Regions from separate parts of the Homo sapiens genome. Here region 1 is linked to region 2. The links are contacts of gene promoters, found by promoter capture Hi-C in blood cells and fetal thymus (Javierre and others, 2016). All regions are on one chromosome and are shown on one strand. The core of a region is centred on a gene start or on the middle of the fragment in contact, and the rest is flanking DNA. Distances in the headings are between cores, read along the strand shown.

What was found. Contacts are between HindIII fragments. The CHiCAGO score rates a contact against its expected background, and 5 or more counts as called.
Region 1: a contact is called between a fragment that was not itself captured here and the fragment with the promoter of GIMAP1 in region 2, in 4 of 17 cell types (activated CD4 T cells, naive CD8 T cells, non-activated CD4 T cells and 1 more). The highest score is 6.7, in activated CD4 T cells.

Annotation. Positions count from the first base shown.
Region 1 is chr7:150,614,681-150,620,359 of GRCh38, reverse strand. It overlaps the pseudogene TRPC6P3. Among named protein-coding and RNA genes, the nearest start is that of GIMAP6, 15 kb to the left of the region's middle. The HindIII fragment of the contact is 4,063 bases long and covers 1,461-5,523 here.
Region 2 is chr7:150,714,852-150,720,556 of GRCh38, reverse strand. GIMAP1 (GTPase, IMAP family member 1) reads right to left here and starts at 3,944. Exons shown (of 3, transcript NM_130759.4): 1 at 3,867-3,944; 2 at 1,467-1,515; 3 at 1-509. The coding sequence starts at 1,509. It overlaps GIMAP1-GIMAP5 (GIMAP1-GIMAP5 readthrough), which reads right to left and starts at 3,944. Exons shown (of 5, transcript NM_001303630.2): 1 at 3,867-3,944; 2 at 1,467-1,515. The coding sequence starts at 1,484. The HindIII fragment of the contact is 9,233 bases long and covers 3,321-5,705 here.

The DNA of each region.
Region 1 (5,679 bases), core at 2,243-4,742, 100 kb after region 2:
GAGTTACAGTGGCCACAATGAGAAAGTTTTAATGTAGATGAAATTTTTTATCTATGAGTACATTAGGAAAAAAAGGGCGGGGCGGGGAAATCCCAAATGGCTCAAATACAATGAGATACATTTTTTGATTTGTGTACAAAGGATTCCAAAAGACAGAATGACTCAGAAAATTGCCCTTTAAGGAAATCTTTGCAGTGTGCTAATAGAAAACTATTCTGAACCTACTAACCTCTTTGATCTCTTGTCTTTTCCATCTGAACCTCATCAATACCAACTTCCTTAAAAAATTAGATCTTCAAATGAGTCAGGGGTATGTAGAACAACTAAATTTAACTTTTGGTCTCATACACACTCCCAAGCTATGGTAAAAGCATCCACCTAAGAATAAAAAGAAGAAAGACTAATTGGAAATACACTGGATGTCTCCTCAGTCACTCACGTAAAATGTAATCTGCAGTCTCAATAAGATTGACTTCTGATAATAGGCAAATATGTCCCAAAACTCCTGGAGAAAACATAACATCCTTCCTCTGTGCCTTTGAGATGTCTAAATCTTCTAAATGCAAGCATCAGAGAAATCATTCACAAGTAGGGAAAAAAAGAGGAAACTTTTAGAAATAAACAGACAAATAGAAAACATTTTATGCCCTTTCCACAAATATTAATTAAAGTCTTGAGCCATCTGAACAGGTAACTTTAACTGTCAAGAACATAGTTTGAACCCAACTAATGAGTTTTACATTATTGTGCCTGATACATGACTAAACCTTTAGAACAGATGCCACGACTCTATTTGCATCTGTTCGTATATTTATATACGTCTACATATGTGTATGTTATTTGTATGTAATTTTATTCTACCTATGGTTAATATTATTAGAAATAATATTAAAATTACTACATTTAATTGGGTATAGTCATGCACTGCATCGTGTCATTTTGATCAATTAAGGGCTGCATATACTACAGTGGCTTCATAAGGTTATCATGAGACTAAAAAATTCCTATCACCTAGTAGCTATTGAATGTCATAGTGCAACACATTATTCACATGTTTGTGGTGACATTGGTGTGAAAAGCTGCCAGTCATATAGAACATACAATTATTTACAGTACATAATACTTGATTGTAATAATAAATGACTATGTTACTGGTTTATGTATTTACTATATTTTAAATCATTGTTTTAGAGTATACTCCTTCTACTTATAAAAAAAGTTAATTGTAAATAGCCCCTCAGGCAGGTTCTTCAGGAGCTATTCCAGAATAAGTCATTGTTATCACAGACGATGGCAGTTCAATGTGTGCCATTGCCCCTGAAGAACTTCCAGCGGGAAAAGGTATGGAGGTGGAAGACAATGAAATTCATGATCCTGACCATGTGTAGGCCTAAGCTAATGTGTGTGTTTGTGCCTTAGTTTTTAACAAAAAGTTTGAAAAGTAGAAAAAGACAAAAGCTTATAGAATAAGAATATTTTAAAATTTTTTGTGCAGTTGTTCAATGTGTTTGTGTTTTAAATTGTGTTATTACAAGAGCTAAAAATTTAAATAAAAAGTTTAGAAAATAAAAAGGTTACAGTAACCTAAGTTTAATTTAATTGAAAATGGACCCCTTCCTTACACCTTATACAAAAATTAACTCAAGATGAATTAGACTTAAACATAAGACCTAAAACCATAAAAACACTAGAAGAAAACCTAGGCTATTAATACCATTCAGGACATAGGCATGGGCAAAGACTTCATGACTAAAACACCAAAAGCAATGGCAACAAAAGCCAAAATTGACAAATTGGATCTAATTAAACTAAAGAGCTTCTACTCAACAAAAGAAACTATCATCAGAGTGAACAGGCAACCTACAGAATGGGAGAAAATTTTTGCAATCTATCCATCTGACAAAGGGCTAATATGCAGAATCTACAAGAGACTTAAACAAATTTACAGGAAAAAAACAAACAACCCCATCAAAAAGTGGGTGAAGGATATGAACAGATACATTTCAAAACGAGACATTTATGCAGCCAACAAACATATGAAAAAAAGCTCATCATCACTGGTCATTAGAGAAATGCAAATCAAAATCACAATGAGATACCATCTTACACCAGTTAGAATGGTGATCATTAAAAAGTCAGGAAACAACAGATGCTGGTGAGGATGTGAAGAAATAAGAATGCTTTTACACTGTTGGTGGGAGTATAAATTAGTTCAACCGTTGTGGAAGACAGTGTGGTGATTCCTCAAGGATCTAGAACCAGAAATACCATTTGACCCAGCAATCCCATTACTGGGTATATATCCAAAGGATTATAAATCATTCTACTATAAAGACACATGCACATGTATGTTTATTGCAGCACTATTTACAATACCAAAGACTTGAAACCAACCCAAATGCCCATCAGTGATAGACAGGATAAAGAAAACATGGCCCATATACACTATGGAATACTATGCAGCCATAAAAATGGATGAGTTCATGTCCTTTGCAGGGACATGGATGAAGCTGGAAACCATCATTTTCAGCAAACTAATGCAAGAACAGAAAACCAAACACTGCATGTTCTCACTCATAAATGAGAGTTGAGCAATGAGAACACATGGACACAGGGAGGGGAACATCACACACTGGGGCCTGTAAGGGGGTGCAGGGCAAGGGGAGGGATAGCATTAGAAGAAATACCTAAAGCATGCGGGGCTTAAAATCTTAAATGTAAATGGGCTAAATGCCCCAATTAAAAGACACAGACTGGCAAACTGAATAACGAGTCAAGACCTATCAATGTGCTGTATTCAGGAGACCCATCTTAAGTGCAAAGACACACATAGACTCAAAATAAAGGGATGGAGGAATATTTCCCAAGCCAATGAAAAGCAAAAAAAAAAAAAAAAAAAAAAAGAAAAGCAGGGGTTGCGATTCTATTCTCTGATGAAACAGACTTTAAACCAACAAAGATAAATAAAGACAAAGAAGGGCATTACATAATGGTAGATGGATCAATGCAACAAAAAGAGCTAATTATCCTAAATATATATGCACCCAATACAGGTTGGACAGATCAATGAGACAGAAAATTAACAAGGATATCCAGGACTTGAACTCAGCTCTGGACAAGCAGGCCTAATAGACATCTAAAGGACTCTCCACCCCAAATCTATAGAATATACATTCTTCTCAGCACCACATAGCACTTATTCTAAAATCGACCACATAGTTGGAAGTAAAACACTCCTCAGCAAATGCAAGAGAACAGAAATCATAACAAACAATCTTTCAGACCACAGTGCAATCAAAATAGAACTCAGGATTAAGAAACTCACTCAAAACTGCACAACAACATGGAAACCGAACAACCTGCTCCTGAATGACTACTGGGTAAATAACAAAATTAAGGTAGAAGTAAAGAAGTTCTTTGAATCCAATAAGAACAAAGAGACAATGTACCAGAATCTCTGGGACACAGCTAAAGCAGTGTTGAGGGAAATTTATAGCACAATGAATATTATTAAAACATAGATGACGGGTTGATAGGTGCACCATGGCACATGTATACCTATGTAACAAACCTGCACGTTCTGCACATGTATCCCAGAACTTAAACTATAATAAAAAACAAAATAAAATAAATTGAAAAAAGAAAATATCTTTTATAAATTTAATATAGTCTACATGTACAGTGTTTATAAAGTCTACAGTAGGGTACACTAATGTCCTAGGCCCTCACATTCACTCACCTGTCACTCACTGACTCATCCAGAGGAACTTTCAGTCCTTCAAGCTCCATTTATGGTAAGTGCCCTATACAGGTATACAATTTTTTATCTTTTATACCATATTTTATACTGTGCATTTTCTGTGTTTATGTGTGTTTAGATATACAAATACTTACCACTGTGTTACAATTGTCTGCAGTATTCAGTACAGCAACATTCTGTACAGATTTGTGGCCTAGGAGCAATAGGCTATACCCAACAGTAGGCTATGTAGCCTCGGTGTGTAGTAGGCAGTACCATGTACATTTGTGTATGTATGCTTTATGATTTCACACAACAATGAAACCACTTAATAATGCATTTCTCAGAAGGTATCCCTGTTAAGGGATACATGACTGTATTTTCACTGTCAGAGGAAAACTGCCTACTCAAGCCTCAGTAATGGCGGACGCCCCTCCCCCCAGCAAGTTCCATCATCCCAGGTCAACTTCAGATTGCTGGGCTGGCAGTGAGAATTTCAAGCCAGTGGCTTTTAGCCTGCTGTTCTCCAAGGGATTGGGACCTGCTGAGCGAGACCACTTGGCTCCCTGGCTTCAGCCCTCTCTAAAGGGGAGTGAACCATTCTGTCTCACTGGGGTTCCAGGTGCCACTGGGGTGTGAAAAAACACTCCTGCAGCTAGCTCTGTGTCTGCCCAAATAGTCACCCAGTTTTGTGCTGGAAACCCAGGGCCCTGGTGGTGTAGGCACACGAGGGAATCTCCTGGTCTGTGGATTGCAAAAACCATGGGAAATGTGTAGTTCTATCTGGGCCAAATAGCACAGTCCCTCACAACTTCCCTTGGCTGTGGGAGGGAGGCCCCTGGCTGCTTGGACGTCCTAGGTGAGGTGACGCTCACCCTCCATGGTGTTGGGAAAAGCTGAGTGTTGGGAGAAGCTGAGGCAGGGCTTACATGTCTGACACAATGTAAAAGAGTCTTGGAACCTGTCCAGGGTCCGGGGTCTAAAACCTCTCTTGGCCTTTGGAACACCAAGCTCTGTGCTAAAGGGTGGAAGCCTACCCTGATGCACCATAATGTAAGCGCAGGACATAAAACCCCTCATGGCCTCTGGAATGTGTCTAGACTTGCTGGCTCCTTGCTCCTTGCTCTGCCAGGATCGATTGTATCTTGAGTTAAAAGAACCTTCTCTCCATTATCTCAAGTAGCAGAGCATATGCTAAACTGTCATAGCTGTAAATCATGTGCTTAATGCAATGTTCCCTTTCAACCCCACATTCTCACCACCTGTTTCTTTGTTTGATCACCAATAAATAGTCTGGGCTTCCAGAGCTCAGGGCCTTCACAGCCTCCATTACTCACATTGGCGCCCTGGGCCCACTTTCTCTCTCAAACTGTCTTTACTCATTCCTTTGACTCCACCAGATTTTGTCACCCCCACCACCTGGTGTTGGGTCCAATCACCCCAACATTCCTGGCTGCCCAACTTGGGGTGACAAATACCCCAGTGAAGGAATGCTAGAGCATGTGAAAGTGGAGGATGCATCGTCAAAGGACACCTGAGGACCACTGAAAGAAGCTCGTCAGGAAAGCTGAGCACTTGGAAGAAACAGGGTAACAATGGGACAAAGTGAAAGCAAACATTCTGCTTACTTGAATTTCTTAAGGCACTTATTATGAAGAGGGTGAGACATGGGGTAAGACCCAGTGGAATCTGAGGCTTGTTTATTCAGAAGGCCCCATTTAGAGAAAAAGAAGACAAAGTGAGGACTTAGAAGGAGCCTGGGAAAGTAAAGTCATCTTGAAGCTTCAGTTTCACAGTTAACCTGCTTCTGCTGGAGAAAAACAGATTTAATGAGCACAGAGGCATGATATGGGACTGAATGTAAAGAAATTTGGACTCAAGGCCCCAAGGAATATTTGTTTGAGTTGTGGAATATGCTTGATTTTGGTATGTTAGTGATT
Region 2 (5,705 bases), core at 2,695-5,194:
CCGGCCCCCGCACTCGGCCACCAGCTCGCGCAAGGCCCGGTTCTCTGTGTTGCTCACGTAATCGTGCAGGGAGCCCCCGGCCAGGTCCTCCTTCCTGGTGAAGACGATGACCATCCATTTTAGGACGTCCTCCCCGAACATGTCCCTCACCTGCCTCACCGCCTGCTGGTCCTGGGCGGTGAACCGACCCAACTGGGTCACCAGGAGCAGCGCGTGGGGTCCGGGGGCCGAGAGCAGGTAGCAGTGACCTCTCTCCTCACAGCCAGGATCTGTCTTGGACACTTGGGAGCTGAAAATGTCCGGAGTGTCCACGACTTCCACGTGGCACTTGTCCCACCTGCGGCTGCCCGTGGTGCAGGCCCTGGTCACAGACGTGGCCCCCAGCCTGGAGAAGAACCGTCTCTGGCCCAGGATGCTGTTCCCAGTGGCGCTCTTCCCGGCCCCTGTTCTCCCAACAAGGATGAGCCTCCGCGTGGACTCCTGCCGGGACTGAGCGTTCTCTTCTAAACCTGTGAGACCAAGTGTTATAATCTTACTTAAGTTTAACCAACTTCCCCTTGGGAACTGGAATCTTCTTGCCTTTAGCATAAGTGGTTAAGAATAGAGATTTGAACGCCTGGGCGTTCATTTCCACCTTTTCCTTTTGTATTTGGGTTGTCTGCCTGCACCAGTAGATGCTCCAACTACAGTTGATTATCATAGAAATGCTTCTTTATCAGTCCAGCCCAATAGTTCATCTGACATTTCTGGTCATCCACACACATGCAGACATATTTATTTCATATTTGAAAATTTCGATGGACTCTGAAATATTCTCCCAGAGACCATCCCCAGAGACAGGCAGTGGGGGCAATACTGCCTGGTAGTGAAGAGCTGTGTGGAGTCCCAGATACCCTGGTTTGAATCACAGCCCCACCACGTGCTGGTTGTGTAACCTTGGGGAAGCTGCATAATCTAAGTATTAAGCCTCTTCGGCAAAAGTGGGAGCGATAATAGGGGCCTGTTTCTCAGAGGCCTGTTGAGGGGGTGAAATAAGCCCTCTTTCCTTCTTCTCTCTTTCTCTCCCTCTTTCTCTCCTTCCTCTCTTATCTCTCTCTTAAACTGGCTGCCTAAAAAGAATATATGTTTTAACCCTCTATCCTTGTTCTCTAAACATTCTACCTCACAAATCATGTTCACTGTAGTGCATGATTTAATCCCCTCTGCACTTCTTCTGCGGTGATCGGAGTAGGTTTATTATCCTTATTTTATACTGTGGAACCAAGGGAGCAGGCTAGTCACAGAACTTAACTTCTCACAGCAGAGATCCAGCTAAAATGCAGATCTCAGGGCTGGTGCTGTTTCATCCCAGAGTTGAGACACCTCTGGAACTTATCTCTGTTCAGTCTTGAGGAAGCCCCATTCTCCTTATTACCCTAAGTTCAAGCCTAGGGGGGCAAGTATGAGGTGTAGAGATATGGTCTTACCATAGACATTTTCTTCATCTGTCGCCATCTTCCTTCCTCCCATGCTTACCTGGAAGAGTCCCAAACACAATTTGTTAATTCATTTATTTATTCCTCAAATAGGCATAACCACAAATAGGCATAACCACCTACAGGGTGTCAGGCAAAGTCCAAAGAGCTGGTGACAGCACAGTGAAAAGACATGGTTTTTGCTTGCAAGGATCTAAAAATCTAGGTGTATGTCTTGGCAGAAGGGCACGTGGCTAGAGAGAAGACAGGTAAATTTCGTCAAATATAATACATTGTGCTAATCCTTCTTTAAGTAAGGATTATATCGGAACTTGAGAGAATGGCCTTGGAAGGGCCAACACCCTGCCCTTGAGTTGGTAGGATGCTGTGAGAACATTGGGTGAGGCTAGATTTGTCTTTTCAGGAACTCCAAAAGCAAAAAGCAGAGGGTCGGTTATAACATTTACTCAATGCCAATGGGCTTTAGGTATTACTTTTCCCTGGGTGATTCTATATCACTGACATAAGCTAGAGATATCAGGGGATTCAGCAGCTGGGGGAAGATTAGGTAAACCCTCAGAACCAGAAAATGTGCCCAGTGACTTAGGCACCCACCTTCAAGTGGCTGACCTGGGAAGAAAGAAGAAAATTGGGATTTTTCTTTTGGAAATTGAACAGATCTCCCAAGTAGATCTGGAGGGCCCCTAACTCTGTTTTCTTAAAATCAAATAATTTGGTTTGTTTAGAGATGTCTAAATACGATATCTGTGCTGGAGAGACTTGAACACTTCCCTTCAACTCCTGAAGTTGCTTCCCCTCCAAATGTGATTATGCTGAAATCTAACATTGTGTAATACAGCTAAACCCTCTGTGATCCAGTTTGCCTAATCACACAAGCTCCTGAACACAAATTCACTTCTCCCTGCATCTATGTCTCCAGCCTCATTCCCAGACAATACCCCACTCGGTCAGCTACTTCACAATCAGCAGATTTCAGGGCCTTTCCAACCCACTCGGCTTCCCCTCCTAGGACTATTGATCCTCCCCGACCATCTGTCTGTGCCTCACCATCCATGTCAAACTTGTTGTGTCTTGCACCCTGGTCACTTGGATACCTGTGTTCTCTCCCATTGGCACCACACATGAAGGAGGGGCAGAGAGAGAGGCTGGCTGAGTAACTTGTCTTTGATTGAAGGACTTGGAGAACAGATTTGCCTCATATTAAATCTAGAGCTGTTTCTGTTTCTGCAGGAACTCTACTGGCCCTCCCCAAAGCCTTCAATAAAATTCACTCCATGGGCCTTATGTGATTAATTATTTTGCATGTAGGAATGAACAGATGATCATAAATGACATCAAAGCAGAAATGAAGAAACAGTTGCAAGATTCAGAGAAAAGAATTTAGATGAAGCAAAATGTCCTTGTCAACCAAGAAAATGAGAATTTCTTTTTCCAGTGCTGCAGAATTCTGGATAGGCCTTTGGAATTTTCCATAGTTTAGAAGAGGGGTTGAAATGATTTTAAATAGTTTTTTTTTTTAAAGGAAAGTAAGACCCAGCTGAACTCTGAGGTGACAAATGGCCCTTAATCATTGAGGAATGTACACTTATAGAATCCTGTATTCCTAACACTTTAAGAGACCGCAAAGTTTATTGAGTTCTTCACCGCTCAAATGTGCTGCTTCTCAGAATTACTTGAATGTTCTTTAAAAATGTACATCTCTTGGATCCATCCTGAGATTCTGATTCATGAATTAAATGTTTCTGATGTCCACAGCTCAGAACTTGGACATCAGTCATTTTTGCAACCCCCTTTATTGTACAGATGGGAATTTGAGGTGTCCCCGTGGCTGGAGCAGGAGAAGCTTGAATTAAGGGAGCAGATGTTTAAGGGGCCATGCAGGGAAAGGGGTTGAAGACCAAGATATTAATCTCAGATGTCTCCTCAGGGGCCCCTTCTGTGGACAGTGAGGAGGAGAGTTCAAATGTACCCAGTCTTGTCACGTCGTAACTCACTCCGAGGTTAGATGGCTTATGGGGCCATAGAAATATCTTTTGCCTTTGCTCAATAGGGAGCTTGAGGAATGTTTAATGCCTTTCAAACTGTATTTTATTCCTGGAGGTGGTTCCAGCACACTCTTTTCTTACTTTGTTAAGGGAATGTGGGAGGAGACAGATTTCACTCCCCACCAAGAACGTGTGTGCTCCAGAGCTGGAGAAGATGATCCTAAAATTTCCTCTGAACTTTGCCTACTTAAAAACCTGGAAGTATGTCCTTGATTGTTCCAGATCTTGCTCGCCTGCATGATGCCTTGTAGAATGCAAGTGTTCAGGCAGTAAACACTCTAGGAATCATGTTCTTTCTGGTTCTCAGAGCACCCCCAGCCCCCGCCACTCCCAGGCTCAGGCTCACCTTTCCTGGTGACAGGCTCTGAAGTTGGCCACAAGAAGCCCCAACCTGCTGCTTTCCCTTCGGCTGTGAGTGCAGAAGGCTGTTTCCTCTCGGCACACGGAGGAAATCACTCAGACTTCAGAAATCAGGAAGCTCAGGGTGGGCCCCATGGTTATGGTTTAAAGAGACAGAAACATTTCCCATTGAGCTGTGGGTTGGCAATACTTCTCCTACCGACTCTACTTTCTGCTGTGACTGAGGTTATGTGTCTCCAGCAGGGCCTCATGATGTCAAATATCTTGCCATGCTCTAAGAAGGGAGGGATGTTGTAGTCTCTGAGGCCTGACTGTACTTCTAAAATTGATTACTGAGCTAATCTTCAGTTGCCTTTGCCCTATAGGGACATTTCCCCATATAAAATAGGCCCAGAGAGTCTCCTGCCCCGGAACAAATAACGTAATAGCTGTTCTCATCATCTGTCCATTAATTAGACATTCATGTGGCCAGTGCCAGCCCCAGATCCAGTCTGCCAGAAAAACCTGAAGGCAAAGTCTTATCATTCTCTGAGAGAGGAGGGCTTTCCCAGCTATTGAAGGACTTGAGGGTGAACTGGTATGTTGAGGATGAACACCTTCGCACTATCTTCAATTTAGCCTTATTAGGAGGCTTTAGTCTAGTCGTCTATGTTGGTATCACCAGTTCTAGTTATTCTATCTTCTCTCAAGAGCATCATGAGGTCAGCAAAAAAGCGAATCACTGGGTGGTAAGAAGGCTACAGAGGAGCAGGCTGCATATCTGGTTAGGTCATTAACCAGCTATAGGACCTCACCTAACTCATTTAAACTTTCTGGAGTTGGCTTTCTGGAGTATATGGGGAAGACAATAACCCGAGTCTTACCCTACTGGATAGGATCTGCTTTTTAACCTCTTTCATGCCAGACCACTTTTTTTCTGGTAGGGAAGAGACCCAGCTTTTACTGTTTCCCATCTTTTTGGGGGCACAGAGTCTCCTGGATATCTGACATGTCCACTGTTTCCATTCATCATTGCTGAAACAGGGAGCCTGTCATTCTCCCAGTAGACCGGCAGGGCTGGGGCTATTGTGAGGCAGGTGGGGCATCTAGAGCACACAGCTTAAGGAGGCACTCACTCTCAGGTCACCCAAGTGCAGATCTTGTAGGTGGGTGACCCTGGGAGTGAGTGTTTTCTTAAGAGTGAGGTGCCTAGGGCTTCTCACTAGCCTCATCCTAGCCCAAGCCACATAGATCAGCTTTGAATAAGTCTTTGATACTTGACGTGTACCTTTCATAAAGACGCTTTCAGAGCCTCTTCAACAGCTCCGGGCCATTTATTGTTTCCATGCATGTGTATGATGTCTTACTTCAGCCACTCATAACTCTCTGTCAGAGGGTTTATCTGACTACAAAAGTATATGTAGGTAATGCATGCAGCAGCCTGAAGTTGTCAGAGCTGATATCCTAGGAGCAGATTTCAATCAATGTCAGTTAGGACTTATGGATAAACACCACAACTTATCAAGTTGTCCACCACGTGAGACAACTCTGTGATGTACTGCATACAAATTGCTGAGTCCCCAGCAGGACTGAGACCCAGTTGTCTGCAGTGGGAACATCCTCATCACCGTATACAGTGGTAATGTGCTCATTAATGCAACTTGCATTGGCTACTATCCCTTCCCGTCCCACATTTCCACTTTCCTACTGGTGCTTTCTGGGATCTTCTTCCTATTGAAAAGTAACCGTTTCTGTCTTTATTTTCCTCTACATTTCTATTAGCTCTTGATTATGTCTCACTGTCTCTGGGCTTTGTTGCCTATTATTATTCATTGATACTTACTAT